Linked DNA regions of Homo sapiens: regions 1, 2 and 3 are each linked to region 4. Evidence: promoter capture Hi-C in 16 types of primary human blood cells and fetal thymus (Javierre and others, 2016). All regions are on one chromosome and are shown on one strand. Each heading gives the region's core, a stretch centred on a gene start or on the middle of the fragment in contact. The rest is flanking DNA. Distances are from core to core; before and after follow the strand shown.

Evidence for each region. Contacts are between HindIII fragments. The CHiCAGO score rates a contact against its expected background, and 5 or more counts as called.
Region 1: a fragment that was not itself captured here is called in contact with the fragment with the promoter of GDI1 in region 4 in 2 of 17 cell types (M1 macrophages and M2 macrophages); the score reaches 6.5 in M1 macrophages.
Region 2: a contact is called between a fragment that was not itself captured here and the fragment with the promoter of GDI1 in region 4, in 7 of 17 cell types (total B cells, naive CD8 T cells, activated CD4 T cells and 4 more). The highest score is 9.9, in total B cells.
Region 3: a contact is called between a fragment that was not itself captured here and the fragment with the promoter of GDI1 in region 4, in 3 of 17 cell types (monocytes, naive CD8 T cells and activated CD4 T cells). The highest score is 8.8, in monocytes.

What each region holds. Positions count from the first base shown.
Region 1 is chrX:154,715,038-154,721,004 of GRCh38, forward strand. GAB3 (GRB2 associated binding protein 3) reads right to left here. Exons shown (of 10, transcript NM_001081573.3): 2 at 989-1,292. Among named protein-coding and RNA genes, the nearest start is that of GAB3, 33 kb to the right of the region's middle. RefSeq lists a silencer at 59-168 and an enhancer at 4,317-4,611. The HindIII fragment of the contact is 1,115 bases long and covers 3,698-4,812 here.
Region 2 is chrX:154,116,747-154,122,280 of GRCh38, forward strand. No RefSeq gene overlaps it. Among named protein-coding and RNA genes, the nearest start is that of MECP2, 22 kb to the left of the region's middle. The HindIII fragment of the contact is 175 bases long and covers 3,928-4,102 here.
Region 3 is chrX:154,100,373-154,106,625 of GRCh38, forward strand. No RefSeq gene overlaps it. Among named protein-coding and RNA genes, the nearest start is that of MECP2, 5.8 kb to the left of the region's middle. The HindIII fragment of the contact is 9,158 bases long and covers 1-6,253 here.
Region 4 is chrX:154,435,691-154,438,403 of GRCh38, forward strand. It overlaps GDI1 (GDP dissociation inhibitor 1), which reads left to right and starts at 1,464. Exons shown (of 11, transcript NM_001493.3): 1 at 1,464-1,609. The coding sequence starts at 1,565. ATP6AP1 (ATPase H+ transporting accessory protein 1) reads left to right here. Exons shown (of 10, transcript NM_001183.6): 10 at 1-826. The coding sequence ends at 201. RefSeq lists an enhancer at 996-1,496. The HindIII fragment of the contact is 14,364 bases long and covers 1-2,713 here.

The sequences.
Region 1 (5,967 bases), core at 3,005-5,504, 280 kb after region 4:
TTCATGAAACGAAAAGGAATGTGTTCTCAGAAAGCACACTCTTGTGCCTGTCCTGGAGGGAGATTCAATTCTGACTCTCCATTGCCACCTAGCGTTAGAGTGTGGATATTTCAGTGGCAGATGGTGGAAACCATGCAGTAACTCTTAAAATGTTGAAGCAACTATAGATTACAGGATTTAGGGGCAAAGTTTTGTCTACTAGACTAAGAGGCTAAAAGAAACCAGATTCAAAATCTCATATTTTGAGGAATAGGACATGTTGCAATAATGTCAGGGGCTCAACAACAAAATCCATGAAGGGAAGTTAATTGTAACCCTAGGTTACAATATACCTGGAAAATTACATAGGATGAGTTGTGTGTGTGTGCGTGTGTGCGTGTGTGCGTGTGGCAGAGAGAGAGAGAGAGAGAGAGAGAGACTCTGGGGTACTCTTCATGGGTCAATTGCTCCCACTGCCCAGAAATGGCCCAGAGCAAACTTACAACTAATTTCCTCTGCAGAGAACTTGAGACATTTGGAGGTATCAGGAAATCTTTCTTGCCTACGATAAGTAGCCAAGTTCTCTCTTTCTACCATTTAGTGATGAACAACCCAATAGGCACCAGAAATGCTGGAGTTCCACAATATTTTGAAGTATGGCAATATTTGATATTTCTAGAAGGTCATGAGTGTCAGCATCATGGGAAGACATCCTCATCCACATTTGACTTTCACTGTGGCTGAATGAGAGCAAAGACATGAAGGGGTTTTAAAGCCATTAAAGTAACCTGCAATGCTCAGTGTGCTCATGGACTCTGCCTTCCCACATTTGGACTGGGTAAAAGAGGGCAATTTCCAGTATTGTATTTGGTAGGAACAGTTCTGATATAAATTAGCCTGCCAAAACACCCTCAAGGAGGCAGGCTTGGCATCTTGAACTGTTTTTCTGCAGTAACCCTCCAGTCCTGGGATACCCCTTAGCACATGGGAGCCCCAACTCCGCTCTTACCTGCACCATCCTCCAGGTGGCCAAGGTTGCAGACCTGACTGATGCTGTGCACCCACACCTGCATTTCTTGCTCAGTTTTGGCCACCAGGTAGAATGTACGGGAAGTAGTCTTGACAATGAACACGAAATTATTCTGAAATTCCTTCCGAACAAAGCTGGGGCCCACATGCTTCCACACTGCACACTCGCTGAGGTCTATCACCCGGATGGGCTTGCTGGAGTGCTTGTTCCTGTAGTACTCCAAGACATCGGGGTTGCCGCTCATGCGGCCTCGCCGGAGGACAAACCAGCGCTTGCGCCAGGCCTGCAGAAAGGCAATTCAATAAGGAGTTACTGGACCAATTTCTCTTGTTTCTCAGGCTATGCCAAGAACCCATGTCATGACAAGGACAGCAGGAAGGAAACAAATCAGCCATTCTAATGATGAAACGCTTTGTATTACAGGACTAGTGCCCATCTTCAAGTCCGCTTTATTGGATGATTTTAAGGACGGGTCAGGATTGGAGAGTCTAGTAATGGGATTCACACCCACAGTTTGAAGGGCCAGAATTATACAATCATTGAAATTGATGCAGCAAAGGAATGTAGTACAAATTTAACATATGCTGAAGCTTTAAAAGAATCTTAGCAATAAAGAACTAGAAGGAAGCTTTCTTACTATTATGTATCTCAGTTCAAGAGCCAATATCATACATTAAAATCAGATGAAAATCACAAATGCTCACCACTGCCCCAGTATCTTCCAACATTGCTATTTAAGTTCTACACAACTGGCCAAGAAGGAAAATCATACACATTGGAGAGGAGGAGAGAAGATTGCCAGTGTCTGAAGGTGACAAATTGTCTTCCATAAAACCCCCAATGATGATTAAAACACTAATAGAATTCTCAGAGAATTAACTAGCTTGGCTAGTTACACTTCCTATGTAAGAGACCCTTGTCTAAGCGCTTTACTGTAACCCATTTAATCCCTAAAACTATACTATGGGAGGGGTAACTATTACTATCTCCATCTTATGTCTGATAAAATTGAGGTTCAGAGAGATTAAGTAATGTGCTCAAGGTCACATAGCTAAACAACTGTAGGAATGAATTTGAACTCAGGTTGGGATGGAAGGATCGGTAATGGATGTGAAGTTAAAAAATAAAGAGAGAGAGGAAGTGTAGCCAGCTCTCCAGAAACATCTGACTGTAAAGGGGGAAAGCTCTGGGGTCAAGGGATTTTTTAAAGATGGGAGACTCTTAAGCATTCACCCCCTAAGTCACAGTGTTTTTCAACCAGGGATGGTATAATTCCTCTCGGGAGCATCTGAAAATATGTGGGTTTTGCTTGTTATAAAGGCTGGAGATGGAGTGGGGGGTGGGGCATGGCAGGATTGGCCTAAAGCTATCAGTGCCCCTGTTTTGAAACACTGTAAAAACAAAAAGGAATTTTCCTTAATGGAATAGGAATCTTGGAAAGAGCCAAGCCTGGAAGTCAGATGAACAGGTAAAGCTCAGTCCATGCTCAGAAAAGAAAAGAGAATGATATTCCACAGAAACCAGTGCCAAGATTTGACAGGTCTCTTTTTGTGCCCTGAGAACAACTGAGAATGACCTAGGGCTCCTTGGCTTCCCACTCACCATTGACTTAGAATTTTTGATGTAGACAGTACCATCTTGGCTCAGTACAAAGAAAGGGTGCAGATCTCTGGCCTGGGGAAAGAGGTATTTACAATTGACCAAAGCCCTAGGGAGTCCCCTGGATCTGTAAACCTCCCTGCCCTCTCATGGAGCCAGGGGGAAGGAAATGTTTGAGTTCCTTGTCTTACATTTAGGTGCCCTTTGTTCATCGAAGGGCCAGATAGGCCAGCCTGCATGGATAGCGTATCCTTACTTTCTGCGGTAGGGAACTATGGCATTAGCCCCAGTTGGGAATTGAGCACAGAGAAGGATGACGGCTGACCGCAGGGAGATTTATAGCTCTGTGGTTTTTCTCTCCCATGCGGTAGCATGTGTGACAGCAGGAAGTGTGGGGTTCTGCCAGGAGGTACAGCGACCCCTGGGACAGGAAGTCTTTTGTATCTCTAGCTTCATTTATGTGTGATACTTTTTAAGCCCACCAGCTTTGACCAAGAGGCCAGGGAAAAAGGAAAAGACACTATTTGGAGTATTCTCAGCTCCCTCCCTGCTCAGAGAACATGAATCTGAGATGGCAGAGAATCCAAAGAAGCACTGACCTCCAATTATGCCTTAGAATAAAAAGCCCTTCCAGGACTGAGGCAAGGGGCAGCAAGCAGAAGGAAGGCAGTCACTCCATGTCAGGTTGGGGCAGGTGAACCCTGGTTTGCTCCTGCCTTTACAGACAGTATAAAGCTTTGAAAAGAGGTCTGGCCATGAGTCAAACAAGGAGACCATCTCAGGAGACAAACAACGTGGTGTGATTAAGTCCATGTTTTTAAGACAGGAAAAATAACAGCATGTTTGTATGCTCGTGGGGGTGACCCAAGAGGGAGAGAAAAATTGATTCAGTAAATTCCTGTTGCAAAAACGTGGCACTGGATGGGAGTAGAGCCACTAAACATAAGAGAAGGAGCTCAAGTTTTGCTGTGGGGTTTGAAAGTGGGAAACCTGGGCTTCTGGCATCAACTGAGGCAAACAGGAACATAAGGCCTAGTCCAGGGAAGGGGCTCAGGGGATGAGAGAATGCCATTTGTGCCTGCTGAGGAAAGCTTTCATGGGGAGGGAGCATGGGGTGCTCCAAACTTTCCAAAAGCCACTTTGGTGGGGGAAATGTAAAGAGGAACTTTGTTGCACTTCCCAAAAATGATTCTAAAAGAGGAAGTCAAACTAAGCACAGAAACAAGTTTCACATTAACCGCTCTTAGTGTTATGGAGACAATAGATTTCTTATCTTTTAATAACAATATTGGAAGAGAAGTAACACCAAGAGTTTATTTGAGTGCCTACTCTGCACTGTGCATCCTGCTAGACAATGAAGCTAGAAAAGGGGATTAGAGCTGGTCCCTAAAAGACCTCACTCTCTAGCTGGGATAGGGAGAAGGGTAGAATTATGATATGGGTAGATTTCAACTCAGCGTAGTGAGCGGTCTAGCAGAAGAATGAACCAGGAGTGGTGGGAGTGCAATGGGAAGAGTGACATGAAGAAGTTTGGGCTTTATCCATTCATTCAACAATTACCTGTTGATAGCCCACTAATATGCTGGACACTGTGCAGATACTGGGGAAGATGAAGTGAGCAAGCCACATGCCCTGCCACTCACAGTCTCATGGGCAACAAGGGAGTGAGCAGATGGATAAACAGACGATTGCAATCAGTGAGATAAGTGCTACGATAAGGCAAAACCAAGATGCTATGGGAACAAACAAAAGAGACATCTCTCTCAGATCAGTTGTCTGGGGAGGCTTCCAGGAAGAAGTGGTGACTAAGCTAAGGCTAAAGTGGGGCAGGAGGAAGCAGCGTGCACAAAGGCATTAAGGTGGAAAGGCTCAAAACTTTGCGTAAGTAGTTCAGCAGGGCTGGAAGGCAGGCATGAGGGTGGAAAGGAAAAAGAACAGTCACACAGTAACTTAAATAGGACGTAGCATAGTCTTGATGCTGAATCATGCAAAATCGCCAGTGTGTCATCCCTTAGGTTTTTAAATCTCTACATAAGAGTTTTGATTATGCAAAAACAGAAGTGAGGTGTTCTTGGAGCTCTTTGCTAAGTAGGTAAAACCAGAGGCCACATATAGTTCTGTTCCACCAGGCTTACAGGCTTCTGGAAAATGGAAGACATGTGACAAAGCCCCTGAAAGCAGTCAGTCTGCCAGCACTAAAGTGAAGCTTTTTACAGTGAAACAATGCCACAAGGAATGACGAGGGCCATGTCAAAAGGACTTAGGGGCTAACCTGAAGAGGCTACCACTGGCCATATATGAAAGAATTTTTGCTTTCATAAATAGTCATATGCTGCATGACATAATAGTAACAATGAACCAAATATACAATGGTGGTCCTATAAGATTTTTTTTCAATCCTCCGAGACATCTGAATCCCAAAAGATTTAATACCATATTTTTATTGTACCTTTTCTATGTTTAGATACACAAATACCTACCATTGTGTTACAATTGCCTACAGTATTCAATATAGTACCATACTGTACAGGTTTGTAGCCCAGAAGCAACAGGCTATAACATATAGCCTAGGTGTGTAGTAAGCTAGGTTTGTGTAAGTACACCCTGTGATGTTTGCAAAGTGACTAAATCACCTAATGACACATTTCTCAGAACATATGCCCGTCATTGAATGATGCATGATTGTGTAATAATTATAGTAGCTTGAAATCCATCAAATACACTTAAATCCATGAGTTCATTATGATATTAGAAAAATAATTTGTCGTCAGGAGATCGAGACCATCCTGGCTAACACAGTGAAACCCCGTCTCTAATAAAAATACAAAAAATTAGCCGGGCGAGGTAGTGGGCGCCTGTAGTCCCAGCTACTCGGGAGGCTGAGGCAGGAGAATGGCGTGAACCCCGGGGGGCGGAGCCTGCAGTGAGCCGAGATCGCGCCACTGCACTCCAGCCTGGGCGACAGAGCGAGACTCCGTCTCAAAAAAAAAAAAAAAAAAAAAAAGCAAAAGAATTTGTCATCTTCAGAGGATGTAAGGGAACTACTTCATTTCCTTGAAAACTACTTAAGTAAAAGGGAAGAATCAAGCATTATCCAACCTTTCCTCTACGTGAACTGTCCCACTTGGGTAGATGAAGGGAATGTCTCTTTATGAATGTATTCTGATCAGTAATGGAAAAACAAATGACAGAATTAGAATATCCCTATTTGCTAGCCCCAGTGAATTAATAGGTATAGCCATTAAGCATCAACAGCTGCTAACTTGGGAAAAGAAACAATCAGACATTTTGTGCCTCTGATAGCCTGATATGAGGGTGCAATCAGCAGAAGCCAGCCTGTAGAAAACTCTACAGGTCAA
Region 2 (5,534 bases), core at 2,765-5,264, 320 kb before region 4:
AGATCTGGGAGCAGAGCAGGGGAGGGGACGTCGCTCAGTGCTTGCAGGCAGTGCCGGCTCACAGCGTCGCTCTGCTCCGGGTACAATTTCACTGCCTTCAATTGGACCTGGTGTCCCACAGTTCACTGACTCCTTTGCCCTCTCCAGAGAATAAAGTCCCCCATTTCTGTCAGGATGGAGGAGGCACAGTTGCCCAGGGGCACACGGGCAGAGAGGTTTGCCTGGGACTGAGGGCGTTCAGAGGACATGGGGCTGGCAGCACTGAAAGTGGCTGGGACAATAGGTTACCCTAGCACCCGGAGCTCAGAGTGCTTAGTAACCATTAGTAACCAGCTTTCACCCAGTCCTTTTTCTTTTCTTTTCTTTTCCTTTTTTTTTTTTTGACAGGGTCTTGCTCTGTCTCCCAGGCTGAAGTGCAGTGGCGTAATCTCAGCTCATTACAACCTCCGCCTCCCGGGTTCAAGCAATTATTGTGCCTCAGCCTCCAAAGTAGCTGGGATTACAGGCATGTGCCACCACGCCTGGCTAATTTGTGTATTTTTGATAGAGAAGGGGTTTTGCCATGTTGCCCAAGCTGGTCTGGAACTCCTGGGGTCAAGTGATCCACCTGCCTCAGCTTCCCAAAGTGCTGAGATTACAGGTGTGAGTCACTGCGGCCAACCTTCACCCAGTCCTCTTTATTTTAGTGCCCCCTCCGCCCCCAGCTCCAGTTCCTGGGCCCTGGGCTCCCTCTCTGCAGCTTGCCCTCTGACATTCGGAGAGCTGTTTGTCCGGCTCTCCAAACCTTGTTCCTGTTGTGTCATCCCCTGCCCTTCCCATTCATGTCGAGTTATGCCCCTTTTTTTCTCCCCAAAGCTGCTTTACTACAGCTTTACTGTTCAATCTGCATTCTCGACCCAGAATTAACCTCTCTGTGAATTTTTATATTCATAGCAGCTTTATTTGTAGTAGTTCTGACTGGAAACAACTCAAACGTCCTTCAGAGGGTGAATGATAAATTGTGGTACATCCATGCAAAGGAATACTATTCAGCAACCAAAAGGAATATGATATTCAAGCAGGCAACTACCTAAATGCATGTCAAAATAATTACACTGAAAGAGGCCACATTGAGAGGATATACTGTATGATTATATGGAACTCTAGAACATACAAACTAATCTATAGTGACAGAAAGCTGATCGGGGTTGCCCGGAGATTGGGATACGGGGAGTGTTGGGAGGGAGGATTTACAGAGATGCAGGAGGAAGCTCTTAGGGTTGATAGCTATGTTCATTACCTTGATTGTGGTGGTTTTAAGGGTGCATACCTGTGTCAAAATGGACCAAATGGTATACTTTATGTTATTTATTTTTTAAAATTAGAGATGGGGGTCTCACTATGTTGCCCAGGCTTCCCTATGTTTGTTGCCCAGGCTGGTCTTAAACTCCTGGGCTCAAGCAATCCTCCTGCCTTAGCCTCCGGAGTAGCTGGGATTACAGGCGCATGCCACGGTGCCCAGCAAAATTATATACTTTATTATTATCATTATTTTAGAGATAGGTCTCACTCTGTCTCCCAGGCTGGAGTACAGTGGCAATCATAGTTTACCGTAACCTTGAACTCCTGGGCTCAAGTGATCCTCCTGCCTTGGCCTTCCAAGTTGCTGGGGCCACAAGTGCATGCCACAATGCCTGGCTAGTTTTTAAATTTTTTGTAGCAACTAGGCTTCCCTATGTTTGTTGCCCAGGCTGGTCTCAAACTCCTGGCCTCAAGCAATCCTCCTGCCTCAGCCTCCCAAAGTGCTGAGATTGCAGGTGTGAGCCACCACACCCAGCCTCTGTATACTTTAAGCAACACACACTTTGTTTTATGTAGGCTATACCTTGATAAGGCTGTTTGAAATAGAGTGCATCAAATATATTGCGCAGTTTAAAGAACAATTCTAAATTGAACACCCATGCAACCATTTGCTTACCCCTAGTAATGGAGCTATTCTCATTTTATTCTTAAAGATTCATCGTTTTGCCCTTCATATTTAGGTTTTCAATCTGTGTAAAATTGATTTTTGTAATGGTGTGAAGTAGAGGTACAGCTTCCTTCCTTTTCCTTTTTTTACAGTTTCTCTTTCTTTCTCTTTTTTTTTTTTTTTCAGACAGTCTCAATCTGTCACCTAGGCTGGAGTGCAGTGGCGAGATCTCGGCTCACTGCAACCTCCACCCCCCGGGTTCAAGTGATTCTCCTGCCTCAGCCTCCCAAGTAGCTGGGATTACAGGCGTGTGCCACCACGTCCAGCTAACTTTTGTATTTTTAGTAGAGGCGGGGTTTCACCATGTTGGCCAGGCTGGTCTCGAACACCTGGCCTCAACTGATCCACCCGCCTCAGCCTCCCAAAGTGCTGGGATTACAGGCGTGAGCCACTGCGCTGGCCTTTTCTTGTTTATGATCTCCAGGGGATGCTTTCAACTTTTTGTCATTAAATATGATGATGCTATAACTATTTTAATAAATCCTTTGCTAAGGAAGTTCATTTTAATTCCTAGGCTCCTGACTTTTCTTTGTAATCATGAATGGATATTGAATTTTATCCAGTGCTTTTTCTGTGCTTATTGTGGTGATCATGTAATTGGTATTTTTTTTAATTTTTTTTGAGACAGGGTCTCGCTTTATCACCCAGGCTGGAGTGCAGTGGCATGATCTCAGCTCACTGCAGCCTCAACCTCCTGGGCTCAAGCGATCCTCTTGCCTCAGCTCCCCAAGTAGCTGGGATGACAGGCATGTGCCACCACCGGCAATTTGTGTGTGTGTGTGTGTGTGTGTGTGTGTGTGTGTGTGTGTGTGTCTATTATTTGTAGAGATGAGGTTTCACCATGTTAACCAGGCTGGTCTCAAACTCCTGAGTTCAAGCAATCTGCCTGCCTTAGCCTCCCAAAGTGCTAGGCTTACTGACATGAGCCACCATGCCCTGCTGATCATGTAATTTTTCTTCTTTAACATTAATTTGGTTAATTACAATAAATGATTTTATATTATTAAACTAACTTTGCACTCCTGAGATAAACACATCTTGGTCACCATGTATTATCTTTTTTTTTCCTTTTGTTTGGTTTTTTTTGAGACAGCATCTCGCTCTGTCTCCCAGGCTGGAGTGCAGTGGCACAATCTCGGCTCACTGCAACCTCCACCTCCTGGGTTCAAACGATTCTCCTGCCTGACCCTCCCGAGTAGCTGGGATTATAGGTGCACGCCACCAGGCCCAGCTAATTTTTTGTATTTTTAGTAGAGACTGGATTTCGCCATGTTGGCCAGGCTGGTCTTGAACTCCTGACCTCAGGTGATCCACCCGCCTCAGCCTCCCAAAGTGCTGGGATTACAGGCGTGAGCCACCGTGCCCAGTCCAGTCACCATGTATTATCTTTTTTACATATTGCTAGTATTCTGTTTGGGATTTCTGAATCTCTGCCTACAAGTGAAGTTGGCTTATAATTTTCTTTCTCATAATGTCCTTGACAGGTTTTGGTTTCAAGGTTATGTTTGCCTTCTAACAAGAGTGGAGCCTCTTTTTCTTAATTCTCTGAAAGAGTTTGTGTAAAATTAGAACTATTGCTTCTTGAATATTTGATAGATCTTGCTGATGAAGTCATCTAGGCCTAGAGTTTGGTTTGAACGGAAGATATTTTATTACTAACAAAAAATTTATAATTATATGACTATTTAGGGTCTTTGCTTTTTCTTGAGTCAATACTGGTAATTTCTTTTTCTAGGACTTTGTTCATTTCAACTGTATTTTCAAATGTATTGGCACAAAGTTATTCACAATAGCCATTACTTTAAAATCCTGTCTGCATCTGTGGTTATAGCCATTTTCCATTCATAGTATAGTTTCCATGTGCCTTTTCTCTTGTTTCTCTCAATGAGGACTGTAAATGTCATTAGTCCTGCCAGGGAAGCTTCTGCCTCTGACAGGCGTCACTGCTTTGCTCCCTGCTCTAAGGAGTCACCTGTGTGAAGTTTTTCCTTTTCCCATCAATCATGTCGCCATCCTCCTGGCAACAGTATAGATTGGTGTCTGACGTAGGAATGACACAAAGACCCCATCCAAAAGTAGCCAAACTTTATTTCAAGCTTAAGAAAATGCATATTTTCTCCAAACTTAAGCAGAACATTGTTATGAGAAAAAAACTGGACTTTCTTGCACTGTATTTCTTTTTTAGGGGGAGGGGGGAAGGGGAGATGGAGTCTCGCTCTGTCGCCCAGGCTGGAGAGCAGTGGTGCGATCTTGGCTCACTGCAACCTCCGCCTCCTGGGTTCAAGCAGTTCTCTGCCTCAGCCTCCCAAGTAGCTAGGATTACAGGCGCCCACCATCACGCCCGGCTAATTTTTGTATTTTTAGTAGAGACAGGGTTTCACCATGTTGGCCAAGCTGGTCTTGAACTCCTGACCTCATGATCCACCCGCCTCGGCCTCCCAAAGTGCTGGGATTACAAGCGTGAGCCACCGCACCCGGCCTCTTGCACTGTATTTCTGTTGGAAGATCACAACCATGTTGCTCATTCTTTCTTATTAAGATTCCCATATCTGGTGTTTCTTGGAGATGTATCTAGGTCAACATGACCCAGGTTTAACCCAAACAACTCATAAAAACATGGCAGACTTTTAGCCCTTGGGAAATGAACTTGCTTTGGCCCTACTGAAGAGACTCATTTAAACCCTCCTCTTCCTCTGAAGCCTGTCCCTGAGAACTCCACCTTCCCTTTCTCTTTTCAGGCTGCCTGGCTGCACTTGGACCTACGCTCATCATCTCTTTGGCTGTTTCCATTGTTTAGAGGTTCCCCTCAATGTCCCTGGCCTCAGGATAGCTGCCACTGGAGCACAGCCCTGGCCTGGGAAGTCCCAGCAGGACCCCAGAGGCTCCTTGAGTCTCTTACCTTCCTTCCCAGGAGGACTGTCACTGAGGGGGGAGCCGAACTTTGGTCACAGCAATTGAGCTGCTTTCTAAGCTCTCATCTGTCCAAGTGTGATGTCCACTGGAAGTTTCTGGTCCTTTGGCCCATTTTGATTAGTTCCTCTTGTCTTCCAGGGTGAGAGACCAAAAGTCCTGTTTCTGTAAATCATGGCTGTGTGCCAGTATACAAAACTGACAAGACCCCTTAGGACATTTGTCTTCCAATTTTGAAACCGGAAGCCTGGATGAAGTGTCCTGTCTCCCAGATTGAAATCTTGGAAAACCTGTTTGTGACACCATTGGTTATCTTCTCTGTGCTTCCCGTCTGTGGCCAGAATTGTGCCCAAGAGCCTGGGCCAGAGCCAGCCGAGTAGCCCTGCCCTGTGGACCCAGGGGTCTTTTTATAGTTAACTTGTAGCTACAGCTGGAGAACTGGTTCTGCCTGTCTTCTGTGGTTTCCTGGCTGTGCACACTACTGAGTCGTCACCGAAGGGGATCAGGGCTTGTTCCGTGCCTGTGTTCTCCAGGGAACAGGATCACAAGACAGCTGTCCCCGGGATAATGGACTCTTGGGAAGAATTTGGCTCCTGGGGGGGGTGGCTCGAGGGCA
Region 3 (6,253 bases), core at 2,799-5,298, 330 kb before region 4:
ACACAGAGAGAGAGAGAGAGAGAGAGAGAGAAACAGACCAAGAGGGCTTTATGGATGACTTCTACCAAATCTTTAATGAGTAGGCAATTCCAATCATACACAGAAAAGAAATAAATGTCTCCAAACTTATTTTACTAGACTAATATATCTACTATGATGAGCCAAGAAAAGTATGACACAAGATGTGGAAATAAGTTTTAAAATTCTAGACAAATAAACTGAATCCTGCAGTATATGATCTATCACAACCGAGTTGAGTTTTATCCTAAGAATGCAAATATGGTTTAAAATTAGAAACCCAACCTTAACAAACTTAAGGGGAAAAACACTACATAATTATTTCAATAGATGCAGAAAAAGCATTTGATAAAATTCAACATCTACTTATGATTTTTTTTAAAAATCAGAGAACTGGAGTTCAAGACAAGCCTGGGCAACATAGCAAGAAGCAAGACCCCGTCTTTACAAAAAAAATTTAAAAATTAGACAGACGTGGTGGCACACACCTGTAGTCCCAGCTCCCTGGAAAGCTGAGGTGGAAGGATCACTTGAGCCCAGGAGTTTGAGGCTGCAGTGAGCTATGATTGCACATTGCACTCTAGCCTGGGCAACAAAGCAAGACCCTGTCTTTAAAAAAAAAAAAAAAAAAAAAAAGGTGACCAGGCACGACGGCTCACGCCTGTAATCTCAGCACTTTGGGAGGCCGAGGCAGGCGGATCACGAGATCAGGGGATTGAGATGATCCTGGCTAAAATGGTGAAACCCCATCTCTACTAAAAATACAAAAAAAAATTAGCCGGGCGTGGTGGCACGCACCTGTAGTCCCAGCTACTCTGGAGGCTGAGGCAGGAGAATCGCTTGAACCTGGGAGGTGGAGGTTGCAGTAAGCCGAGATCGTGCCATTGCACTACAGCCTGGGTGACAGAGCGAGACTCCATCTCGAAATAGATGGATGGATGGATGGATGGATGGATGGATGGATAGATAGATAGATAGATAGATAGATAGACAGACAGACAGACAGACAGATAGATAGATAGATAAAATAAAAGGTTAGGAGAGGGCAAAAAACCTGAATAGACATTTCTCAAAAGAAAACATTTAAATGACCAACAGGTATATGGGAAAAATCTCGCCAGGCACCTTGGCTCACACCTGTAATCCCAGCACTTTGGTAGGCCGAGGTGGGAAGATCACTTGAGTCCAGGAGTTCAAGGCCAGCCTGGTTAACATGGCAAGACCACTGTCTCTAAAAAAACAAAAAATTAGCCAGGCATGGTTGTGCACACTTGTCATCTCAGCTTCTTGGGAGGCTGGGGTGGGAGGATCACTTGAGCCCAGGAGTTTGAGGCTGCAATGAGCCAGGATCGTGCCATTGCACTTTGGCCTGGGTGACAGAGTGAGACCCTGTCTCGAAAAAAGAAAGAGAAGGAAGGGAGGGAGGGAGGGAGGGGAAAAAAAGTTCAACATCACTCATCATCAGGGAAATTCAAATCAAAAGCCCAATGAGATACCCCTTCAATTCAGTTAGAATGGCTTTAATCAAAAAGACAAAAGAAGACAAGTTGGCAAAGATGTGGAGAAAAGGGAATACTTTCATACTGTTGGTGGGGTAGTAAGTTAGTATAGTCAACTATGGAGAACAGTATGGAGGTTTCTCAATAAATTGAAAATAGAACTACCAGCAATCCTACTACCGGTATATATCCAAAGGAAATGAAATCAGTATGTGGAAGAGTTATCTGCACTCCCATTTTTATTGAATGACTATTCACAATAGCCAGATACAGAATCAACTTAGGTGTCCACCAACAGGTGAATGGATAAAGAAAATGTGGTACATATATGCAATGGAATAATATTCGGCCATAAAAAAGAATGAAATCCTGTCACTTAAGACAACATGAATGAACCTGGAGGACATAAAGTTAAGGGAAATAAACCAGAAACAGAAAGACAAATACCACATGATCTCAGTCATATGTGGAATCTCAAAAACAAAAAAGAGTTGATATCATAGAAGCAGAGAGTAGAACAGTAGTTACCAGAGACTGGGGAGAGGATCGGGGAGAGGAGGATGGGCAGAGGTTGGTCAACAGGTACAAAGTTATTATTAGATAAGATGAATAAATTCTGGTGTTTTGACCAGGTGCAGTGGCTCACGCTTGTAATCCCAGCACTTTGGGAGACTGAGGTGGGTGACTCACTTGAGGTCAGGAGCTTGAGTGCAGCCTGGCCAACATGGTGAAACCCCATTTCTACTAAAAATACAAAAATTAGCTGGGCATGGCGGCGGGTGCCTATAGTCCCAGCTGCTTGGGAGGCTGAGGCAGGAGAATCGCTCGAACCCAGGAGGCAGAGCAACCTGGTGAGCTGAGATCACACCACTGCACTCCAGCCTGGGTGACACAGCGAGATTCTGTCTCAAAAAAAAAAATTATGTTGTTCTATTGCACAGCAGGGTGACTATGGTTGACAGCAATATATTGTATGTTACAAAATACCTAGAAGAGAGACTTTTGAAAGTTCCCACAACAAAGAAATGGTACATGCATGAGCTGATGGATATATTAACTACCCTGCTTGGACCATTGTGCAACATAAATATATATTGAAATATCAAATTGTACTCCCTAAATATGTGTCAATTAAAAAACAAAAATAAAAAGCCCCACATACATCCTTCTTCCATTCTCTTTTAAACCTCATTCTTGGTGCGTCTCTGCGGGGAGAAAGGCCCATTTCAAGTCAGTTCCCCGGTGTTAGGATGCAGGCATGTAAACACGACCAGTAATAAAAAGCTGGAAAATGTAATGAGGGAAAAAAGATTCAACTCACTCTCACTACAAAAATTATAAAACAGCTGGGAATAAACTTAATAAGAAATGTCAAAACCTGCATCAAAAAGCTATAAAACTTTACTGAAAAATCTAAAAGAAGACCTGAAGAAAACAAAAACAAAAACAGACGCTACCGTATTCCTGGAGGGGAAGCATTAACATTATAGAAATGTTAATTCTTCATCAATAACTCTGGAAATTCTTTGCTCAATCAAAAGTCAAGAAGTTTCATGGGCTATAACAACTTAAATCTAGATTGGAAAGAATAATGTACAAGACTAGAACTCAAGAAGTTTTTGAAATATTAAAAAATAATGAAGAGAATCTTGCTAAATTCCTTAGGTTGAATAGAAGGAACTTAAGTTATACAGTTTCACACTTGCCATTGAAAAGTAGAAAAATATACTATAATCGGCTGGGCATGGTGGCTCACGTCTGTAATCCCAGCACTTTGAGAGGCCGAGGCGGGCAGATCACGAGGTCAGGAGATCGAGACCATTCTGGCTAACAAGGTGAAACCCCGTCTCTACTAAAAATACAAAAAATTAGCCGGGTGTGGTGGTGGGCGCCTGTAGTCCCAGCTACTTGGGAGGATGAGGCAGGAGAATGGGGTGAACCCAGGAGGCGGAGCTTGCAGTGAGCCGAGATCGTGCCACTGCACTCCAGCCCGGGTAACAGAGCAAGACTCCATCTCAAAAAAAAGAAAAAAAAGAAAAATATACTATAATCAAAATTATTTACTATTAGAATTAAAAATCAGTAATTTAAAAAATGGGACTGTAATAGTTTAAGGTCCTCTTAAAAACAGGACTGTAGAAGATAAAAACCAGGAAAATCTAGTATAGATGGTAATTGACAGAAAGCCCACAACCAGAAGGATTTTATCAATATGACAAACAACACAAACTTTTACTCCATTTGTCTAAAAATCTCTTAAACTGATAGAGAATATATATATTTCAGAAGAGCTAATCCAGGCCAGGGGCGCTGGCTCATGCCTGTAATCCCAGCACTTTGGGAGGCCAAGGCAGGAGGATCGCTTGAGCCCAGGAGTTCGAGATCAGCCTGGGCAACAAAGTGAGACCCCGTTTTTCCCAAAAATGAAATAAATTAGCTGGGCACGTGCGCACCTGTAGTCCTAGCTACTCAACAGGCTGAGGTGGGATCATGCCACTGCACTCCAGCCTGGGAGAAAGAGCAAGCCCCTGTCTCTAAAAACAAAAGAAATGACCAACATTGAGAGCCCTACATATTAAAACCTAGGAGATAAGGCTACAGAGGTCACCTAGAAAAATTAATAGCCTTAACCATATTTGTTAGAAAATAGATAAGAAATGAATAAATTCTGATATAAGACACCATGAGCAGGCACAGATGTGCATGAACACACACACACCCAGACACACAGACACACACACACAGTCACATACACAGACACACAGACACACACACAGACACACAGACACAGACACACACACACACACACAGTTTTCCTTCTTTACTCATAGAAGTGCACTAAAAGAAGAATGTCAAGAAACAGAAAGGAGGCAGGGTGTGGTGGCTCATGCCTGTAATCCCAGCACTTTGGGAAGCCAAGGAGGGTGAATTGCTTGAGGTCAGGAGTTCGAGACCAGCTTGGCCAACATGGTGAAACCCTGCCTCTGCTAAAAATACAAACAATTAGCCAGGCCTGGTGGCACGCACCTGTAATCCCAGCTACTTGGGAGGCCGAGGCAGGAGAATCGCTTGAACCCAGGAGGCAGAGGTTGCAGTGAGCCGAGATCGTGCCATTGCACTCCAGCCTGGGTGACAGAGCAAGACTCCGTCTGAAAAAAAAAAAAAAAGGAAAGGAATAAACCCACCAGAGTGAAGAGAATGTGGTGAGGATGAGAGGTTATCATCAAAGGACAACAACTTTATAGAAAGCATATGGGAATTGATTGATGAATAAAATAGGCAGTAAAAATCCAGGTGAGAATATTTGACAAGGGAGCCACAGAAGAAGTGGGAGTGAGTTTGCTAGATATAACACCAGACAATCAGAATCAGTAGGCATGTGGTAGAAAACGATAGAATTAAATAGGACTGAACACATGGGGATTAATTGAAGGCACCAGTACAGAATGACTGTACCAGTTGGAACCTCCTCTCCCCACCAGACAGCTGAGCTGGGAGCTGGCACAGACCTACAGGGAAAACACCTGACAGTTCTGTAAAGAAATTGATTGAAATGTCGGTGGAGAGCTAAGGCTTCCAGCATGGATGCTGACAACCCCTGAACAATTGTTTCCTCATTCCGGCATCTAGGGGATACTCTGTTCGTCACCTCCCTGTCCTACACAGAGAAGAGTCACAGCAGGAAAACAGACCTATTTGCCCAACAGCAGATTAAATCCACAATACTTATCCAGTCCTTCCTTATTAAATATAAACCAGTCAGTAAATATTATCAGAAATTTGATGAAAGCCTTCAACAGGAAAAAGAGTCAAGATAAACCTGTAGAAAAAATATAAACTTGGAATTCAAGAAAATTCAGGGAATGTATCAAAAAATTTAATTTAATTAACATATCTACAGAACTAAAAGAAAATGCTGTATTCATAAAACAAGAACAGAATATTATGTAAAAAGAGCAATCAGAGAACAAGAAGGAATTATTGAAATTCAAATTTCAATAGAAATATTGGAAAATAAAACTGAAGAAGTCTCCCAGAAAATAGAACAAAACAATAGAGACAAAGATATGAGAGAAAATATGAGGACTTTGAGGAGTGATCTAGGAAGTCTGGCAAGCAACTAACAAGAATTATGGAAAAATGAAATAAAGAAAAAGGAACAGGAATCAGAGTAGCACCAGAGTTCATAACAACACTGAATGATAAAAGATCACAGGACAACAAGAAAAGAAAAAGATAATAGGGCAATGCTTTCCAAATTCCAAGGGAAAATGATTTTCCACATAGAAGTACACCATCCAAAATATCCATTATGTGTGATAATGGAATAAAAATGTTTTTAGATACACAAGAGCTAAGAAAATTTGCCTCTGAAATGTACTTTCTTAGGAAGCTACTTGGGGATGCTCTGCAGCAAATCAAGGGTGCAAGCCAAGAAAAAGGAAAATGTGGGATCCATAAGACAATGGATCTAATCCAGGAGAGCTGTGATGGGAAATACCAGGGATGCCAACTGGGCAGAAAGCCTGGTTGGCAATCAGTCCAGGTTGGAGTAGGAGAATGGTAGGCTCTGGGAGAGAGGACTCCAAGAATTAAATATATATGTATAGCCGGGTGTGGTGGCTCACGCCTGTAATCCCAGCACTTTGGGAGACTGAGGCGGGTGGATCACCTGAAGTCAGGAGCTCGAGACCAGCCTGGCCAACGTGGCGAAACCCCGTCTCTACTAAGAATAC
Region 4 (2,713 bases), core at 214-2,713:
TTCAACGTAATGGGGGAGCAGTTCTCCTACGCCAGCGACTGTGCCAGCTTCTTCTCCCCCGGCATCTGGATGGGGCTGCTCACCTCCCTGTTCATGCTCTTCATCTTCACCTATGGCCTGCACATGATCCTCAGCCTCAAGACCATGGATCGCTTTGATGACCACAAGGGCCCCACTATTTCTTTGACCCAGATTGTGTGACCCTGTGCCAGTGGGGGGGTTGAGGGTGGGACGGTGTCCGTGTTGTTGCTTTCCCACCCTGCAGCGCACTGGACTGAAGAGCTTCCCTCTTCCTACTGCAGCATGAACTGCAAGCTCCCCTCAGCCCATCTTGCTCCCTCTTCAGCCCGCTGAGGAGCTTTCTTGGGCTGCCCCCATCTCTCCCAACAAGGTGTACATATTCTGCGTAGATGCTAGACCAACCAGCTTCCCAGGGTTCGTCGCTGTGAGGCGTAAGGGACATGAATTCTAGGGTCTCCTTTCTCCTTATTTATTCTTGTGGCTACATCATCCCTGGCTGTGGATAGTGCTTTTGTGTAGCAAATGCTCCCTCCTTAAGGTTATAGGGCTCCCTGAGTTTGGGAGTGTGGAAGTACTACTTAACTGTCTGTCCTGCTTGGCTGTCGTTATCGTTTTCTGGTGATGTTGTGCTAACAATAAGAAGTACACGGGTTTATTTCTGTGGCCTGAGAAGGAAGGGACCTCCACGACAGGTGGGCTGGGTGCGATCGCCGGCTGTTTGGCATGTTCCCACCGGGAGTGCCGGGCAGGAGCATGGGGTGCTTGGTTGTTTCCTTCCTAATAAAATAAACGCGGGTCGCCATGCGTTGGGCCTCTTGTCGCTCATTTCTGCGCTGGGCTTTAGGCGCGTGCTCGCCGGAGGGATGCGGGAGGATGGAGCCTGGCGAGGGGGAGGCGAAGAGGCATCCGCGGAGACCGGGAGGGGCTTTAGCAAGCTGGGCCCTAACCGCTCAGGGTAGGGAGGGGCGGTCGGGCCGAGTCCCGGTGCGCTTCGGCGTCTCAGGAGGCCGTCGTGACAATGGCAGCCTTCGCGTCGTGAGGGGGCCGCCCCAGGCTGCCGCAGCGGCGCGCGCCCGGCCGCGGGGCCGCGCCGAGACTCCCGGGGGGGTGGGCGGGGGTGGGGAGGTGGGCGGGCGCGCGCGGGGCGGGGCGGGGCGGGGCGCGGCGGGTGGGGCGGGGCGCGCGCGGCTCCCGCGCACGGATTCTTCCTGGGCCGCAGCACCGGCCGCCGGCCCGCCCCGCCCGCCCCGCCCCGCGCCTCTCTAGACTCTCGGCGAGCAGCGTCGCCCGCGGAGCCGCGCTGGTGCTGTGGCCCGGGCCCTGGCAGCCCTCCCGGGAGGCGAGCCGGGGAGGCGGTGGCCCCTGCCGGTTGCGGCGGGGCGCGGGAAGAGGCGGGACTCTTTGACGCGGCGGAGGGGTCGGGCGACGGCCGACGCGCCGCCATCTTTGGTCCAGTGCGGTGGCGGCGGCGGCGGTGGCGGCGGCGACTGCTGCGGTGAAGGAGGAGGAGGAGCCGAGCGGGCGCTGGCACCGAGGCCTGACCATGGACGAGGAATACGATGTGATCGTGCTGGGGACCGGTCTCACCGTAAGTGCGGCCCCGGCGCCCCTGGCCCTGCGTCGTGCCCTCGCCATCCCCCGCGATGATGCGGCCGCCGGCCCATCCTCTGGTCACTGCCATCTTCTGCGCTCCGCTCCCCGAAAAGCCGGCGCCGTGCCCACCCCGCTGCTCCCCCAGCGACGTCGCCTCTGCTCGTTGCCATGACCCCATCTCCCCGAAGAGGCCCCCTTCCTGGCCGCCTCCTGGGCTACCCGGGTCCGACCCCCGGCGCCCTCCCATCTTCCCTACCCCTGCCCGCTGGACCGGAAAACGCACCCCCACTCGGCCCGATGCCCACGACCCCGCCCACCCATCGCCCCCACCCATCACGGCATCCACCCGTCGCCCGCACCCATTGCCCGCCTAGCGTTGCCTCTCAGCGTCCGTTCCCATCTTGCGCTAATCCCGGTGGGGATGAAGTAGAAGGACCTGGGGTCAGGGGGCCTCGCCAGAGTGGGCCCTCAGCCCGCCTCCTCATCGTCTTCTGGGGCCAGGGGATCCAGGGAATGTTCCAGAAGGAACAGCAGTGGGGGCAGTAAGCACATTCCCGCAACCCCACCTCGGTTGCCCATGGAGACCTCAGGCTGGGTAGCATCTGCAGCCTTTGTCCTTGGGCTAGTGACAGTGACTGGTGAGGGTGTTTATCTTCCCCCTTTCCCCGAAAACCCCGTTGGCCTACTCCCCTCAGAGACTCTTCTTCCTCGGTCCAGGCCCAGATGCCCCTCCTCAGCGGCAGGGGCTCCTGCTATTTGAAGAAAGAGCAGTCCAGGGTGGGGCCTACAATTTCAAGGACTGTGCTAAGCCTTTCTTTTCCTCCCTTTCGAGTGTCCTTTGCAGTCCAGCTGGGTCTTCTCTGTGCCTTATTGTGTTTTATCCGCCTTTTTGTGCGGCTCTGCGTAGGTAGATGCCTCTCGGCGTGTTGGTACTGGAAGGCCATCCTGTGTCTGCTGGATGCCCTGCCTCCCTCAAAGCCTCCGTTATTTCACTCTCCGCCTTGTGAGGGGGACGGGACTCCTTTGCCCAGCAAGGTTGCAATGGAGAGTGTGGTCGGATGAAGCCATCACCCCAATTTTAGGCGAGGCAACTAGCCAG